Linked DNA regions of Homo sapiens: region 2 is linked to region 1. Evidence: promoter capture Hi-C in human tissues and cell types (Jung and others, 2019). All regions are on one chromosome and are shown on one strand. Each heading gives the region's core, a stretch centred on a gene start or on the middle of the fragment in contact. The rest is flanking DNA. Distances are from core to core; before and after follow the strand shown.

The links. Contacts are between HindIII fragments. The study calls those that stand out against the background at their distance.
Region 2: a fragment that was not itself captured here is called in contact with the fragment with the promoter of MYL10 in region 1 in 2 of the 25 tissues and cell types used here (lymphoblastoid cells and spleen).

What each region holds. Positions count from the first base shown.
Region 1 is chr7:101,627,330-101,630,613 of GRCh38, forward strand. It overlaps MYL10 (myosin light chain 10), which reads right to left and starts at 1,967. Exons shown (of 8, transcript NM_138403.5): 1 at 1,712-1,967. The coding sequence starts at 1,789. The HindIII fragment of the contact is 21,528 bases long and covers 1-3,284 here.
Region 2 is chr7:101,745,897-101,749,239 of GRCh38, forward strand. No RefSeq gene overlaps it. Among named protein-coding and RNA genes, the nearest start is that of CUX1, 70 kb to the right of the region's middle. The HindIII fragment of the contact is 5,608 bases long and covers 1-3,343 here.

The DNA of each region.
Region 1 (3,284 bases), core at 717-3,216:
GGGCAGGGGCAGGGGCAGGGGCAGGGGTGGGAGGGAGGGGACCGCAGTGCTGAAGCCAAAGACACAACAGCCACAGGCCTGAGCTCCCCAGGGAGGAGGTGGAGGTGAGAGGAAGGTAGCCGTGGCAGAGCAGAACAACCCCAGCCTACCATGGTCTGGAGAGCTCCCTGAAGCTGCAGTTGGCCTGGGGATAGCTCAGAGATGGCCCTTAAATAGTGGTCCTCCCAGGGCCCCTGGCATGCACCGGGCCCAGTGTGGAAGGTGATCCATGACAGGACGGAGACCTCCCTGCCAGGCACCTGCCTTGGGCCATTCAGAGTGGATAGGGTTGGGGGGAATCCGTGGGCAAATACCACGGACGCAGGGACTGCCTAAGCCTCCAGGATCTCCGAGAGCCCTGGGCCAACTGTTTTCTCTAGAGCCAAGGGACCAAGACCCAGGAAGGGGCATTTGGCCAAGGACACAGAGTAAGTTGAGGCTGCCTACCCCAATGGGAAGACTTGGCCTTGAGCCGTCAGGGAGTGTTGCCCAGGGTGGGGCCACCCATGCTGGCTGGGACCCACTCAGACTGCAGTGTGGCCGGACCTCTGGAGCTGTGGGACTCTGGGTGGGACATCACCCTCTAGGAGGCTCAGCCATCTCATAGGAATAGGGGGGAGTGTATGAAACCCCCGGTCTGCTTATGGAGAGAGTTTCTGCACCAACCTGGCCCTCGGGGGCCCCTTCTACCAATATGCCTATTATCAGGGTGTCCATTAAGCACCCCCAGGCCAGGGGACCCCCTCAGGGCACTGAAATGCTCAATGAACAGAGAAAGCAACAGGACAAATAAAAGAAAAATGGGGTGGGCGCAGTGGCTCACGCCTGTAATCCCAGAGCTTTCGGAGGCCAAGAGGGAAGGATCGCTTCAGGCCAGGAGTTCAAGACCAGCCTGGGCAACATAGTGAGACCCCTATCTCTACAAAATATCAAAAAAATTAGCCGAGCATGGTGGTGTGCTCTTGTAGTCCCACCTACTCAGGAGGCTGAGGCAGGAGGATTGCTTGAGTCCAGGAGTTTGAGGCTGCAGTGATCTATGATTGTGCCACTGCACTCCAGCCTGGGCGACAGAGTGAGATATTGTCTCTTAAAAAAAAGAAAACAGAAAACTGGAGGTGACTCTGATGAGGAAGAACTGAAAAATGAGACCTCCATTCCACCCTGGCCTCACACACACACATCCATCCCCACCAGGCCTGGCCCAGCCCAAGAATTCTCTAGTAGATCTGCCAAACAGAGCCCACACCTGCCCTGGAAAGCCCCTCCTGTGTCTAGTGCAGCCCCAGCAGCCCCAGCTCGGCCTCAGAGGCTGCCACTGTCCATCTGGGGCCCGCCATATCTGAACAGCTGCCAGGGCCGGCAGTGCTGGGTTCAGGCAGTGAGCCCACGGGTCCCCAGGGGCTGGAGAGCTTAACTGTCCCTGGAGCTGGCCTCAGGCCTTCAGCCCCGGGTACAGCTGATCCCCTGCCTTTGGGGAAGGGAATATCATAATAATAATAAGAAGAGCAGCTAATATACAACACAGAAGGTCAGGCCATGTCTTAAAACACGTGTCCTCACATTCAATCCATATCCCATTTTCCAGATGAGGAAACTGAGGCACGCATGGGTTAAGTCACTCACCCAAGGCAGATAAGAAGTGGGGCCAGAGGCCAGGCACAGTGGCTCATACCTGTAATCCCAGCACTTTGGGAGGCCGAGGAGGGAGGATCACTTGAGGCCAGGAGTTTGAGACCAGCCTAAGCAACATGGTGAAACTCTGTTTCTACAAAAAAATTTTTTTTAATTAAAAAATTAGTCAGGCATAGTGGTGAAGTGAAAAAGTTCCCTTATCCCGTTCATAGGGCATGCGATGGGGGTGTGGCTCGCTTCTTCCATGCCCAGCTGCTCAAACCTCTAGGCGGACCATGCAGACAGGCAGGCTATGGGGCTCCGACCCCACGGCAGTGTCTAGGGGTGGATGCTTACAGCTCCTGAAGCCCCAGTGGGCGTGTGTTACAGGATGCTCTTTTACTTTTGCCATCTGTAGGTGGCTTGTGTTCATCAGCTCAGTTAGACCCTCTGCCTTATTGCAAGGACAAAGGGCTTTTTGTATCCTGGGGTTCTTGCCTTGGTGTACTGTGAAAATTGAATCACATGTGGGCTTGGAGAATGAGTGCGAGGTTTTATTGAGTGGTGGAAGTAGCTCTCAGCAGATGATGGGGAGCCAGAAGGGGGATGGAGTGGGAAGGTGATTTTTCCCCTGAAGTCAAGGTGCTCAGCAGCCAGACTCTCCTCTGACCATCCCCAGCCAAATTCCCCTGGGCATTTGTGTTATTCAGCCAGTCGATGGCCTGCCAGCATCTGCCAGTGCTGTCGGTGTGCTCTTCCGATCCTCTGCTCCTCTTGATGTCCAGCCACCTGTGTGTGTACCCACTGGGGTCTCAGGGTTTTCATAGGCACAGGATGGGCGGGGGGGCGGGGGGCGTGGTGGGCCAGGGTGGTCTTGGAAAATGTGACATTTGGGCATATAAACAGGAGTGCCTGTCCTCACCTAGGTCCGTGGGCACAGGCCCAAGGGTGGAGCCCTTGCCAGGGACCCTGCCTTTCTCCTCTCAGCACTTCCCTGTCCCCCCTCCTGTATCAGTGGCACATGCCTGCAGGCCCAGCTACTTAGGAGGCTGAGGTGGGAGGATCACATGAGCCCAGGAGGTTGAGGCTTCAATGAGCTGTGATTGCACCACTGCACTCCAGCCTGGACAACAGATCAAGGTCTCATTTCTAAAACAAAAAAAAAAAAAAAAAAAAAGAGAGAGAGAGAGGGAGGGCCAGGACAAGAGCCCCTCTTTCTAGTGTTTCCAGAAGGAAGCTTCCAAAAGGTTCTGCTCATCCAAACTCTCCCCTCCTCCTGCTCCCTCCCAGTCATCCCTGACTACAGCTATTTCTGATGTCCCTAAACTCCTGTGACTGAGTGCTCCTCCCAGAGCTGGGGCCAGGTCCAGCCATGATGCTGTGCAGCCCGCTTTCTGCAGCAGGAAACCGTGTGCCTCAGTTTCCCCGACAGGGCTGCTCTCCTGGTGTCCTGGCGTTCCTCTCCGGGGAGAAAAACCACACGTTCCACAGGTGTTCAACAAGCCAGGCGGAAAGGAGAACCCAGCTCTGGGGACGGGAGCCTGGATTCCAGTCCCAGCCGCCTGGACCTGCTACAGAAGGGGGCCTGTGTGACCGCGACAGTGGCTAGGGTGCAGGCTTTCCATGCCCGGTCT
Region 2 (3,343 bases), core at 404-2,903, 120 kb after region 1:
TTTTTTGGTTGGGTTGTTTGCTTTTGAGACAGGGTCTTGCTGTGTCACCCAGACTGGAGTGCAGTGGCACAATCATGCCTCACTATAACCTCAACCTCCTGGGCTCAAGTGATCCTCCCACCTCAGCCTCCCAAGCAGCTGGGACTACAGGCATGCACTGCCATGCCTGGCTCATTTTTAAATTGTTTTTTAGAGATGGGTTCTCACTATGTTTGCCCAGGCTGGTCCTGGACTCCTGGCCTCAAGAGGCCCTCGGCCTCCCAAAGTGCTGGGATTACAGGTGTGAGCCACACCACAGTTGCCCTCTAAAGTCTAGTTTTATCTTGTGAAGAGTGAGGAGCCGCTATGAGGTGATAAGTCAGTGTCCTTCCAGACCCTTCCAGGAAGCCCACTCCGACTGTTACCCTGGGGTTCACTGGTATCTCTGAGCACCTTGTGCTTCTGAGCCAGGCCCCCGGCTATGGAAGGGGTGGGGGCGATGCTCCTAGAGGTTGGAGGACAGATCATGAATGACAGAACAGTCTGATTTTCCTGGAGGACGCCCCTCCTTAGACAGGGCAAGCCCCCAGCCAGTGCCTCCTCCTTCCCAGCACTCAATGCTCCTCCTCTGCCTCCTTCACCTTTCACTTCCTCTTCCTCCACCTTCTGCTGCTCACCAGAGTCCAACTCACATTTCTTTAAAAACTTAAAATGGGCTAAGTGCATGGTGGCATGCACCTAAAATCCCAGCACTTTGGGAGGCTGAAGCAGGAGGATCGCTTAAGGCCAGGAGTTCGAGGCTGCAGTGAGCTATGATCACACACTGCTGCACTCCAGCCTGGTTGACAGAGATCCCATCTCTAAATATTAATAATAATAGACTGGGTGTGGTGGCTCATGCCTGTCATCCCAGCACTTTGGGAGGCTGAGGAGGGCAGATCACCTGAGGTCAGGAATTCGAGACCAGCATGGCCAACGTGGTAAAACCCTGTCTCTACTAAAAATACAAAAATTAGCCAGGCCTGGTGGCGGGCACCTGTAATCCCAGCCACTCGGGAGCTTGAGGCAGGAGAATCACTTGAACCTGGGAAGCAGAGGTTGCAGTGAGCTGAGATCGTACCACTGCACTCCAGCCTGTGCAACAGACCATGATTCAGTCTCAAAAATTAATAATAATAATAATAAAATAAAGCTTCTTTGATGAACGGATCCAAAATTTTCCGATCAGAAAATCTAGAAAGAAGGTATTTTAATTTCAGCATATGTGTAAGTTTCATGGTTTCAGGGGTGTCCAAGGGAGAGAATACAGTCACAGGCTCTTAGTTTCTGTTTCTGGTTGGGTCAGTAAATCCCCTTCCTCATCCCTCTTTTCCGCTTGTCACTAGAGACAGAAACTAAAAACCATGGTTTCAGGCTGCTAAAAGCCTAAAACAGAACAGAACAACAACAGCCAAACAAGGCAGGTTGGGCAAGCTTGATAGGGTTTAGTATCATTTTTTATTGTTTATTCTGTATGGACAGGGCACATCATCTGCTCATTGTGGGACCTGCGCAAGACCCAGATCAGGGCTACCTCCTCCAGGAAGCCTTCCAGGCTCTACAGGCTGCGTCAGGTCCTATCTGCCGTGCTCCCACAGCCCCTGGGGTCCTCACCATTGCAGTCCTCAATACGCAATATTGGAGTCATTGGTTTACCCATCCCTCTCCCTCATCACGAGCTCCTGGCGGCAGAAACTAGAGTCATTCCTCCCTGCGTCCCCAGCGGTGCAAGCAAGGTGCCAGGAACAGTTAGTGGCACTGAGTCTGAGAAGCAGGCTGGCCTGTGTAAGTTGCCTTCTGCTCCAGCTGTGTCCTGGGTTGTGATGGGATCAGACCGCCTTCTAAGAGGCCCTTTCACAAGCTTGCCACCCTCCCCCACCGGGTTGTGGGACCCTCTTTGGAGCCTCAGAGAAATCCCTTTCTTCCTGTCTCCCTGGACTCAGCCACCACCCTCCCAGCCTGCCGGGAGGGGACTCCCACAGACACCTCCCCTCCCTGTCCAGCCCGGAGGAGGGGGATCAGATGCCGGGCTGGAGGCCCCTTGTCTGCACAGAGGCAGGATTTATCTCAGTTTGGGGAGGTCTGGGGCCCCCAAAGTCCTAGATCATCATTAGTTCCATCAAAGAGGCGGCTGTGATCTCAGAGACAAGATGCATGGTGTTCAAATTGGAAACAGCCTGGTGGGCCGAGGGGCCGCGCTGGGCGGGGAGAGGGTTCGGGCCGCCTCCGGGGGACCCCAGGACACTGGAGGCATCCCACAGACGGTCACAGGAAGAGGAGGAGGAGGAGGAGGAGGAGGGAAGAGAAAACATTCCACTCAGGCTCCAGGGAAGAGAGCCGTGCACAGATGGAGCAAAGCCAAGTCTGCGAGTCAAGGCGACCTCCCCACGGAGGCTGGAGAGAAAGGATGGCCAATTGTACTCACCAGTCACCCCATGAGGGTCCTACTGCGTCCCACCCCGCACCGCAAACCTTCGTGGGCCCTGTCTCACCACCCACAGCAACCCCTGAGAACTAGAAAGTGAAGGAATGCATTGCCTTTGCTTTACAGATGGGGAAACTGAGGCTCGGGTGGGGGGAGGGCAAATGGATGTGCCCTAGATCACCAGGGGTACCTGGCACGGCTGGGGTTCCAGCCCAGGTGCCTGGGTCTCTGGAACTTCACCCTGACTCTGGAAAGCCATAGCAAGGAATTGGTTTTTTTTTTTTTTTTTTTTTTTTTTGAAACGGATTTTTGCTCTTGTTGCCCAGGCTGGAGTGCAGTCTCGCGATCTCAGCTCACTGCAACATCCGCCTCCCGGGTTCGAGCGATTCTCCTCCTCAGCCTCCCAAGTAGCTGGGATTACAGGTGCCCACCACCATGCCTGGCTATTTTTTTTTTTTTTTTTTTTTGTATATTTAATAGAGATGGGGGGCTGGGCACAGTGGCTCATGCCTGTAATCCCAGCACTTTGGGAGGCCGAGGTGGGTGGATCACGAGGTCAGGAGATCAAGACCATCCTGGCTAACATGATGAAACCCTGTCTCTACTAAAAATACAAAAAAATATTAGCTGGGTGTGGTGGCGGGTGCCTGCAGTCCCAGCTACTCGGGAGGCTGAGGCAGAAGAATGGCGTGAACCAGGGAGGCAGAGCTTGCAGTGAGCCGATATCGCGCCACTGCACTCCAGCCTGGGCGACAGAGCGAGACTCTGTCTCAAAAAAAAAAATAGAGATGGGGTTTCACCATGTTGGCCAGGTAGACCTCAGGTGATCTTCCCGCCTTAGCCTCCCAAAGTGCTGGGATTACAGGCGGGAACCACTGTGCTCAGCCAAGGGATTGTTGA